3 separate regions of the Homo sapiens genome follow, and all the other regions are linked to region 3. Evidence: promoter capture Hi-C in 16 types of primary human blood cells and fetal thymus (Javierre and others, 2016). All regions are on one chromosome and are shown on one strand. Each heading gives the region's core, a stretch centred on a gene start or on the middle of the fragment in contact. The rest is flanking DNA. Distances are from core to core; before and after follow the strand shown.

Region 1 (3,194 bases), core at 176-2,675, 2.0 Mb after region 3:
GTGTCTGCTTCATTGTAATACAATTTATGCCATTTTAATGTACTATAGTCAAAACACCAAGATGGCAGGAAGCATTTTCCTACAGTGCCTTGTTTACCTCAATGACAACACAAAAAGCAACAGACCTTATCTAACCCAAGTAATGTTTTATTCCAAGTAACCTCACATTCCACATTACTCCTTAACTCCTAAACACACACACATGCACACAAAATAGCAGATACACCCAGAGACAGGTGTGAAACCAAGAAACCCCAAAACATAAGTTTAGCTTAACTCATGAAACTAGTTTTGGGCTTCCACGACTTCTCTCAGTAATGCAAAAAAAAAAAAAAAAGGTTCAACTCATCCACTGAGAGCCTTTGGGTTTCCATTTCTTTAGTAGGTAACTCCATGAACACAACATTGATCAGAGACAAAAGATGAAGACAAGGTCCTATGTACTTGAGCAGTAAAAACAACAAAAAAAGTTTTTTAAATGAAGTTTTTAAATTTTCTATCAAATGTGTCTGGTTAATGGTACTGTGAAAACAAGAGCACTACAGCCCACTTTTAAGTTATTTTTACTGCTGCACTGTTCCTTGGACTTTCAGAAATATGAGGAATTCTGTTCTCTGACCGGCAGCGCAAGATGTGCATGATCTGCCCTGGCCTTGAACACGGGGGAATGTGGGCTGAATGTGTGCACTATGGGGAGATACAGCTGAGGGGGGACGGGCCTCTGGAACTCGGGAGATTTCAGTGGCTACTTGTGCTCACGGTACAAGAGAAGAAACCAGGTAGAGATAGCCACAGGTGCACAACTAAGTCATGCTCACTCTGACAAGCAGGCTAAGAGCCAAATCCTTTCCTTCAGAATTACATGAATTTAATCCCTGGATACAAGGTAGGTATTGTGGAAAAAACAGCGTAAGAAATATGGCTGTTAATTCTATGTGCTCACTGAAGCTGCTTATGAAATTAGGGATCTTTGTTTTGGTAACAATTTAGAGGCCTCCTGGCAGAGTTTTTTTTTTTTTTTAAACTTTGTTATGGGAGCCCCCTACCCCCGCATAGCTACCTGAACAATTATATACAATATACCAAAATCTTCCTAAAAACTCTTTATTGAGAATATATGTACTCTAAAGCTATGGGTATACCTTAAGAGAAAAAGTTCATTATCTGAAATAAACTAAGCTTGACTCCAGAGATCATTTTCCATCTTCACAAACAAGAATGTCAAAGGACAGAACCCCTGCAGCCCAGCTCAGAGGTTTCCCTAAAAGCCCAGAGAAAAGTCAGCATTCTTTACTCCCCATCCCCCTCCCCCTTTTCCACTGCAGGGCCTAACGTGGCTGGTCTCACACCCTCAATAATACCCTTGGGGATTTAAGACAGTAAAATTCTGGGTAAGCTCTCCTACCACTCTTGCGGCTGCCCAACTTACTTCCTGGGCTCATTTCCTTGCCAATTTACTCACGTTGAAAGGTTGCTGTCGCCAACAACGGTCACCCTCTTTCCTGCACGCAGAGGGCAGCTGAGCCAGCCAGAAGTGTACTTTGGGAGGATCTAATCACCCTAACTTTATTTCCTGGGCTGGTTCAGTCTCCTAACCCACCTACAAAGTAACCTGAAGACCAAGTTGTCACAATACAAATAATTATGCACATAGTATTTATAAAAGCTTTCTTACTATAAGTGCATTTTAAGCACTTCATTTGTATGCACTTTATATCTCCGTAAGAAAGCAAAAATGTTAAAAAGGAAGCAGGCCCCTACTTAATTAAGCCAGGGAACTGGTTAGAGCCCTACAAAAGCCTACCTATGGACAAAAAAGGGCGAAGGGGAAGGGAGCTGACACTATCCCTCCCGCAGGGTCCAGCCCTAATAGTGGGTTCTCCAGAAGCTCGCCAGGCATTCATTTCTCCAGGGGAGCGCCCTTACTTGGAGGTAGCGCTGCTTGGTTTTCTCGCCCGCCAGCGTTGAGTTCAGGTGTGCAGGCTACCAACCTGTATTCTTCAGGTAAGTCACCCTCCTCTGACTCGCCTCCCACCCTGCTCCCTCCTGCCTCGCGACCAGTGCGAAGGGAGTCCCCGAACTGCGACACCTCCCGGGGCAGCCGCACCGGTATCCGTCCGAGTCGACCCACTTGCCGTGGCTTTTCACCTACGCAGTAAAGCAAGTTTCATTTTCAAAAGGAGAGGAAGCAGGTTTCACAGACACCGCATTCCCAAGAAGTTTCTGAGAGACGCGCAGCGCACAAGTCACTGGCTTGGATCCCTTTGCTGCTCATGGTGTCCACAGTCTGATGTGAGCGCATTAAATTTAAGGATCTCCGCCCTTCTCCTTAAAACTCAGGACTTGGCAATGAGCCTAGGAAGCGCCCCTCCCCTCCCCAACCAGATCCAAGCCCCGGACCGCTGCGTCTCCAGCTGCGCCTAGTGAAACCGCCGAATTCGAATTCACACTCGGCGGGCCGGCGAAGGTGTGCGCGCCCGCGGGAGCGCCGGGGCGAGCCCGAGGGACTGCAAGCCAGGAAGGGAGGCATGGGTGGCGGGGGGCGCCGTCTGATCCAGGTAGGAGCGGAGGCGCCGATCACACACTCTTCAGACGCCCTGCCCGCGCCTGGCCAGCGCGCAGCCTGCAGGACGCGCGGAGCAGGAACTCGCTGGAGTTTGCCAAGCCCCAGGTCTCTGGAAAGTTGTAGCTCCCTTTCGGAGCGTCTCTTCTGGCCCTTTGGGACGGGTGTGTCAGGGGCGGGGGTCCTCGAGGGAGCAGGAGGGGAAAGGAGCACCGGGTCTCGGCACCTGTCCGCAGCTCCCCTCGGGTCCGCCTGCCCCCTACCAGGCTGGGCAAAGACCTGAGCACCACTTAGTGGGGGCGGACCCCCACTAAGTGAGCTCGCGGCTCCCTGGGGCTGCTGCCGCATCGCCGCACCTTTAGAGGAGGGGGGTCGCGGACTCACCTGGGCAATAGAAGAGGAGGCGACAGAGGCAGGTCCTTGGCGTGGGCAGGCCCCAGCAGGAGCGGCGCGACCTCTACAGCCCCTAGGCAGCGGCACCGAGTGAGCCGTCCCGCCGCCGCCCCCTCCGTTCTTATACGGCGGGACCACGCCCCCGTCCCCGCCCCTGAGCCGCCCTCCCGGGGGAGCCAGGGGCGGGGCGTGGCGGAGCCAGTCCCCTCGGGACCCTTCCGCCCGGCCCTGACGGCAG
Region 2 (3,284 bases), core at 533-3,032, 2.3 Mb after region 3:
CCCTTAATCAACCAAATTCCAATAGTTGCTTGACACAGTCCATCTATTACATTAAAAGAGAGAGCAAAATTAAGTTTCACAAAAATAAATCTTGTCTACAAGCCTCACAAAGTGCAATAACTTAGGATTCAATACCTTTTAACTTAACTGATTTCATATACAGCACCAACACACATCCCCAAAAAAAGAACAAAAATCAGGATATTTTCACGTTAAGAAATGACAGGTATATTCTGCCCACGTTTGTCATCCTAAAAAGCTGACTCACTACTAAGCTTCAACTACAAGCCAGAAAACGAGAGCCCTCTGGGAGAGCACACCCAAAAGAGCTGTCAAGGTTCGATGCTTTGATTTCACATGGTGGCACAATGACTGACTCCAACACGTTATTAATAAATGCAGGCACAGCTTATGTCACCATTTCTTTAGGTTAAGTTTTCATACCTCCCTTCCCAGATGTCCACATTAGACACAACTCTGAACGCAAATGTTTTTCTTATATAAAACCGAAGAGAAGAACGACTTAGGTAGGACTCCAGTCCTACCAGTCTATGGACTCTACCATAGACTGGAGGTAGAGTCCCTCCAGTCTATGGTTTTATTCAGCCAGTCTTGAAGTAACAATACAATATTTATGACTCGAAAAATTACATTTTACTGCAAGAAAAAAAAAAGACAGATTCGATCCAATCACCGTACCTTGCTCTGCCAAATGTTAGTACCAGAACTTCTGAAATAAACAAACCTGTGTCTATGTTCATCGGGTCCATGGATCAGGAAGACTCCGGGGTTTTTAGCCCCTTTACCGGCATCTACATGTGGAATTAACACATCTTCTAAACCCAAATCAAAGCGTTTGTGTTTTGAAGAGTCTGGAAGGAAAAAGAATGCCCCAAAACACAGAGTGATGAAGGCACTAAGAATAAGGAGAAGAATAAACTTCTCAGAAAGTCTCAAGGTAGCCCTGTGATGTGGGAAGGAAGGCGGCCCCAGGTTCAGAGGTGGTATCCTACGTCCAGAGAGGGGCAGCAGGGCTGGGGTAGTCATCGTTTACGCTCTTGGAGAGAATACTTTAGAAAGTTCTCATCTTATGTCAAATGTAGAATACATTGAACTGTCTTCAAAATCTTGGCCAAAATGGGAAAACTCAATTTTGCTCCTCTTAAAGGACTGTTGTGCTTTTTAAGAGGGCACGTCATTCACGCCCATCCATTCCCACTCAGAAACGTGTGTGACCTCCCCCAAACGATCACAAGTTTAGGTCCTGCGATATCCTCTTCAACATCTGTACTTCATCGGATTATTACAAGCCTCCTCTTCATTCCTAGGGGTAGATCAGGCAAGCCACACTGCAGAAAAGCTGCAAGGTGGGTTCTTCCATTCCTGCACCTCAGTGAGATGCTCAAACGTAGTCTTCCGCCCCGAAAGGGAGACTGGCGACATCCGAGGAGTTGTAGAAGGTTCACTTGATCTCCTTCGACGCTTCTATTCCAGAATCTCTTAACCTTAGCGGTGGAAAAAATAAGGGTCTCCCACGGACGTCTGCAAACAGGGAGGAAGGTCTCCCACTTCGCTGGGAAGCCGAAGCAGCGGCGCTGGGCGAAGTAGCAGGAAGGAGTTCTCGGCCGCCCGCGCTTCCCGGCGCTGCCTGGCAGGAACCTGGCGCCCGGCTGAGTCCCGCTGCTGCCCACTCGACGGCTGGCGCGAAGGGCAATAGCGTCCGAAACACCTGAGTCCGGCCAGCCGCCGCGGCCGCCGCCGCTGTTGCTACCGCACGGGTCTGTCAGGGAGCGGAACTTCCTCCTCCGGCGGCCACTGAGAAGCCCCGGCGTGTCCTGGGGGAGGGGAGGCGCGGCGGCCGCCCCCGCCGAGCTCCTCCTCCTCCTCCTCCTCCTCTTCCTCCTCCTCCTCCTCCTCTCCGCGGCCGGTTCAGTGAACCCCGGCGCCTGCTCCCCGAGCTAGGCCGCCGGCCGCAGTGGCCGAGCCCTCGCGCCTAAGAAGCCGAGCCGGGGCCCACGCTCCGAGAGCCCGGGGTAGGCGCCGGCTCATTCCTCACTCAGCCCTGGAGCGGCGGGAGGGCCTGGGCGCGCGGGAGCAGCCGCGCCTCGGGCGGGCAGAGGTCGGCCGCGTCTCCTTCCTGCCCGGCCGCGGGGGCCTCCTCCGCGCCGCCTCCGGTGGCTCGCAGCTGCTGGCTCTGGCGGCGGCTGCCAGAGAGGCAGCGCGCCCACGCCGCTCGGGGCTGCGGCCCGGTCCCCGTACCCTGCCTCCCCAGGCCTGGTGAGCGCAGCAGCTGCTGGGCCGACACCCGTTGGGCTCACGCCGGAGAGGAACCGGAGGGCGGGGGCGATGGGACCCGGGCCGGCCTACCGGCCCCGGCTCGCGAGTGGGCGTCCCCGGGCGGCGGAGTGTGAGGTGCGCGCGCACGCTCCCGGCTCCGCTGCCGCCGCCCCTCCCCCACCCAGCCTGGCTGCCCGGGCTCCGGCCTCGCGCCGCTGCCGGCTCCAGCAGCCCGAAAGCGTACTGCTGCCGCCGCCGTCTGAGCGCGAAAGAAGAGAAGGTCGCCGATCTGCGCTGCCACGAGAACTTCACCGGTGCCCAGGGCCTTGCCACCGCCAGTTCGTGGGGTTGACCCAGCGTTTGGGCGAGAGGGAGCGAGGGGTTGGGTCGCGAAGGTTTCGCTGAAATGTAGTGTCACCGGAGTTAATGGCTTCTGATGGCTTAGGTTAACGTTTACTGTGATTCTTTGGAAGTCTTGTCTTCAGCGATAGACCGTCAGGCCCGAGGATTCAGCAACAGGGTCTCAAACTTCCACGCAGCAGCCCATGCTCACGTTATTGGGCCCCCGAGGCTCGATTAATAGAGCACCAACATGTGCCATGTTACGTTTTTAAAATAAAGTGGTGACCCTGCTCCTTCAGCTGGGCTTCCTTTCAGAGGAATCTAGGTACCCCCGATATGACAGGCGTCTCTTCATTGTTCAGTTTCTGGGGCACGTTCTATCATCTTCACACACCTCATCAACCCCCTTCCCATAAAAGAGAAAATGGATGAATAAGGAGGTGCTGAAACCCAAAAAGGCGACAATATTGTTTACGTTCAGGCTTAAAAACAATCTGAATCAATTCTGTTCTCCGTAGTATTGAGGAGAGCCATGTTGTGATTAAGTGCAAAAGATTTCCTTGCAAGATACATAGACTCTTGCATCCGATTTACTTGCAGGTTGTTTTTGTTCTAATATTGTCATTCCCTGTACACATCCTTTACTGATGACTGGGAATTGGAGA
Region 3 (3,018 bases), core at 264-2,763:
GCTCAAGTGACCCTCCCACTTCGGCCTCCCAAAGTGCTGTGATTACAGGCATGAGCCACCAAGCCCAGAGACTTTTCTTTCTTTCTTTCTTTTTTTTTTTTGAGACGGAGTCTCACTTTGTTGCCCAGGCTGGAGTGCACTGACATGATCTCAGCTCACTGCAAGGTCTGCCTCCCAGGTTCATTCCAGTCTCCTGCCTCAGCCTCCCGAGTAGCTGGGACTACAGGTGCCCGCCACCACGCCCGGCTAATTTTTGGTGTTTTTTTTTTTAGTAGAGACGGGGTTTCACCGTATTAGCCAGGATGGTCTCCATCTCCTGACCTCGTAGTACGCCCGCCTCGGCCTCCCAAAGTGCTGGGATTACAGGCGTGAGCCACCGCGCCCGGCCTCCCAGAGACTTTTCTATCTGATTACTTTTCAAACACATTCTAGAGCATCCTAGAACTTGTCCTTTCCTAGTTCAGTTTATTACTTTCTGCTCATGCTCCAGGAGAGAATATAGCTTTTAGTCATTTAGTCTCTATGTGGTCCTTCCTTGATTTTCTAAGGGTCCTGAGTCTGTGGTCCCAGAAATAGACAAAAACATGTGCAGGGCATCATAGACTCTTGCTAGGCTGGAAGTAGAGTTCCTCTCTTGTAGCCAATGTCCTCTTCTCCTCACCCTTCCACTCCCGAAATACACACACTCAATATACAGTGGCCAGCACATCTGTTTTATGGGACCAAGAAGCTGAATCCTAAAGGTTAATGAAGGAAAGATACGCAGAAAGTCCAGCACTTTCCTAATTCAGCAGCACACAGGTTTTCACGTCTAATATTTAATTTACGTAATTTATTTTCAATCTCAATTTAATTGCTTTTCTTGAAAAGATGTTTGGGACAAGGTCAACAATGAGGGAGGAATGTCACCGGGTCGGGATCTGGAAACAATCAGCTCTGTATGGTTTTAAAGATGAAGCGCCAAGATCTTAAGGAACCTGAATTCCTGGTGAGCAATCAAGTTCTTTAATCGGCCCCCAGCAGGATGTCAACGGCGTAAAAGACAAAAAGAAAATCTATTTTAAAAGATAGATTTTGTGTTTTTAGATTAATTTTTAAAAAGCGAACCCACCACAAACTTCCCAGTTTTTAAAGAAAAGGCCTCTCCCACCGCAGAGCCCTCCCGAACCATGGGACAGCTCAGCGGCAGCGTCCCACCGGCTGCCCGCAACCGGTGCCGCGAGCTCGGAGTGCAGCGCTGGGATCTCGCGTGCTCCGGGACAGCGGGCTCCTTGAGCGCCGCGGGGCGGGGCGTGGGGCAAGACCCGCCGGCCGCTCCCTTCCCCACAGCGCTTAGAGAAGCAGCGAGCGCCTTTCCTCCTGTCCCGGAGTCCTAGCCTGGCCCGAGCTACCTCCAGGGCGCCCGCTGCTGCGGTGGCAGGAAGTCCCCGGGAACTACAAATCGAGGCATGCTGGGAACATTCTCCCGCTCCTCCCAGGAAATGTCCTTTGTCCAGCCCTACAGGAAGCCCCAGTGAGGAGTCAGCCGGGCAGCCAGCCAGCGAGCCAGCCAGCCAGCCAGCCAGCCAGCCAGCCAACCAGCCAGCCAGCGGGCCACCCAGCGGCCGCTGCAGCCGCCGCCGCCGCACAAGGGCAGACGCGCTGCGGTGCGGGGCTCGGGCCGGGGCGCTCGGTGCCCTAGCTCCTCGCCGCGCCAGCCGCCTCGCAGGTAGGAGCGTGGCTGTGGCTGGGCTCAACCGCCTCCCGGGGATGGGGCTGATCGGGACCAGACCCGACCGCTGCGGGGATGGGGTGTGTGTTCGAGTGCGGTGGCGGAACGGCTGGGCGAAGTTGTGCCTCGTAAAGTGGACCGTTGTCCGCTCCCCTGGGGCGCAGGGCCCCGGGCTTATGGGGTGCTCTCGCGCCCCCAAAGCCAGGACTGAGCTCCCTCAGGGGTATGTGGCGAGGGGCGGGGAGGAGGAGGCTGAGACTTGAGGGAGGAGACAGCGATGCAAGAGGGAATAGGACCGTCCCGCCGACCACCGAAGGGGGCATCAGAGACCCTCGGAGAAACCAAGCCCAGGGAGGAGCTTGGAAGGCAAGGAGAAGGTGAAGGGCTTTGTGTGCAGCTGTGGACCTTGACGGACTGCGCTCCCCTTGCCTTGTCTGTTCGTGCCTCCAGCCCCACTGGGGCTAAGGGAGGGTGGGGGGCTCCGAGAAGGGCAGGAGAGAGGCGGCAGGTCATCTTGGGTCCTAGTGAATGAAATGTGTGCCTCCCTTTTCCTCTCTTCTCCATTCTAGCCCACTCAAATGAGCGGCTTTGGGGCTGCCATCAGACCGGGCAAATGACACAATAAGGACGGGTGGGTGGAGAGATGGGCAGCAGCTCGCAGCCCAAGAGGGGTGGCCGTCTAGCCCCGGGAGGCATTCCAACCACACGTGTCCATGTAGGTAGGTGGTGGGGTGGTGGGCAAAGCTGGAACCTGCACCTCGCGGGGATGCCGAGGCTCAGGATTGTGCATGGAGGCACGGGTGAGGCGCGTGTTGGGAGGAGTGGGTGAGTAAAAGGTTGAGGGGGAGCAGCGACACAGAGGCGCTGAGTGTACCTTATGGCCAATGTACATTATGGCCATGCATCGGGAACTGACTACCACTTCCTCTGGGACTTTCCACGATTTTCCTTTTTCCTAACCGCCTCCCCCAACCGCCCCCGCCCTGCCTCCCCCACAGGAGTGAATCACCCACCCCTTACTACATGAACCCTGGGCTGAATTGAAGTTGGTGATGTATCCCTGTCCTTGTAGTGGGCATGTTTGTCCTTAACCTGTAGGATGACACCAATACTCCGCATCCCCTACTGCGTTACCCTCCTCCCTCAAGACTGAGCGTCTGGTAAATGCGGTTGGATAATGGCTAGCGAGTTAAATGTCTTTGAGTAGCTGTGGTGGATGAGTGGGCAACTTTGAATACAGTCCAAGTGTGACTGTTGTAACTGAACTCAGCATGCCTAAGGGGCCACACTCACTATCTCTCCTTTCT

Evidence for each region. The method cuts DNA at HindIII sites, captures the fragments that hold promoters and counts their contacts. A CHiCAGO score of 5 or more calls a contact.
Region 1: a fragment that was not itself captured here is called in contact with the fragment with the promoter of ZNF697 in region 3 in 1 of 17 cell types (M2 macrophages); the score reaches 5.3 in M2 macrophages.
Region 2: the fragment with the promoter of MAN1A2 here is called in contact with the fragment with the promoter of ZNF697 in region 3 in 1 of 17 cell types (M2 macrophages); the score reaches 6.0 in M2 macrophages.

What each region holds. Positions count from the first base shown.
Region 1 is chr1:117,605,907-117,609,100 of GRCh38, reverse strand. It overlaps TENT5C (terminal nucleotidyltransferase 5C), which reads right to left and starts at 3,053. Exons shown (of 2, transcript NM_017709.4): 1 at 2,948-3,053. RefSeq lists a silencer at 2,988-3,194. The HindIII fragment of the contact is 487 bases long and covers 1,182-1,668 here.
Region 2 is chr1:117,365,947-117,369,230 of GRCh38, reverse strand. It overlaps MAN1A2 (mannosidase alpha class 1A member 2), which reads right to left and starts at 1,782. Exons shown (of 13, transcript NM_006699.5): 1 at 746-1,782. The coding sequence starts at 1,047. RefSeq lists an enhancer at 717-856 and a silencer at 1,727-2,546. The HindIII fragment of the contact is 7,016 bases long and covers 278-3,284 here.
Region 3 is chr1:119,646,761-119,649,778 of GRCh38, reverse strand. It overlaps ZNF697 (zinc finger protein 697), which reads left to right and starts at 1,513. Exons shown (of 3, transcript NM_001080470.2): 1 at 1,513-2,088. It overlaps LOC124904389 (a long non-coding RNA gene), which reads right to left and starts at 1,463. Exons shown (of 2, transcript XR_007066506.1): 1 at 1,392-1,463; 2 at 803-1,055. RefSeq lists enhancers at 1,436-1,505, 677-1,517 and silencers at 1,576-1,635, 1,933-2,096. The HindIII fragment of the contact is 7,030 bases long and covers 1-3,018 here.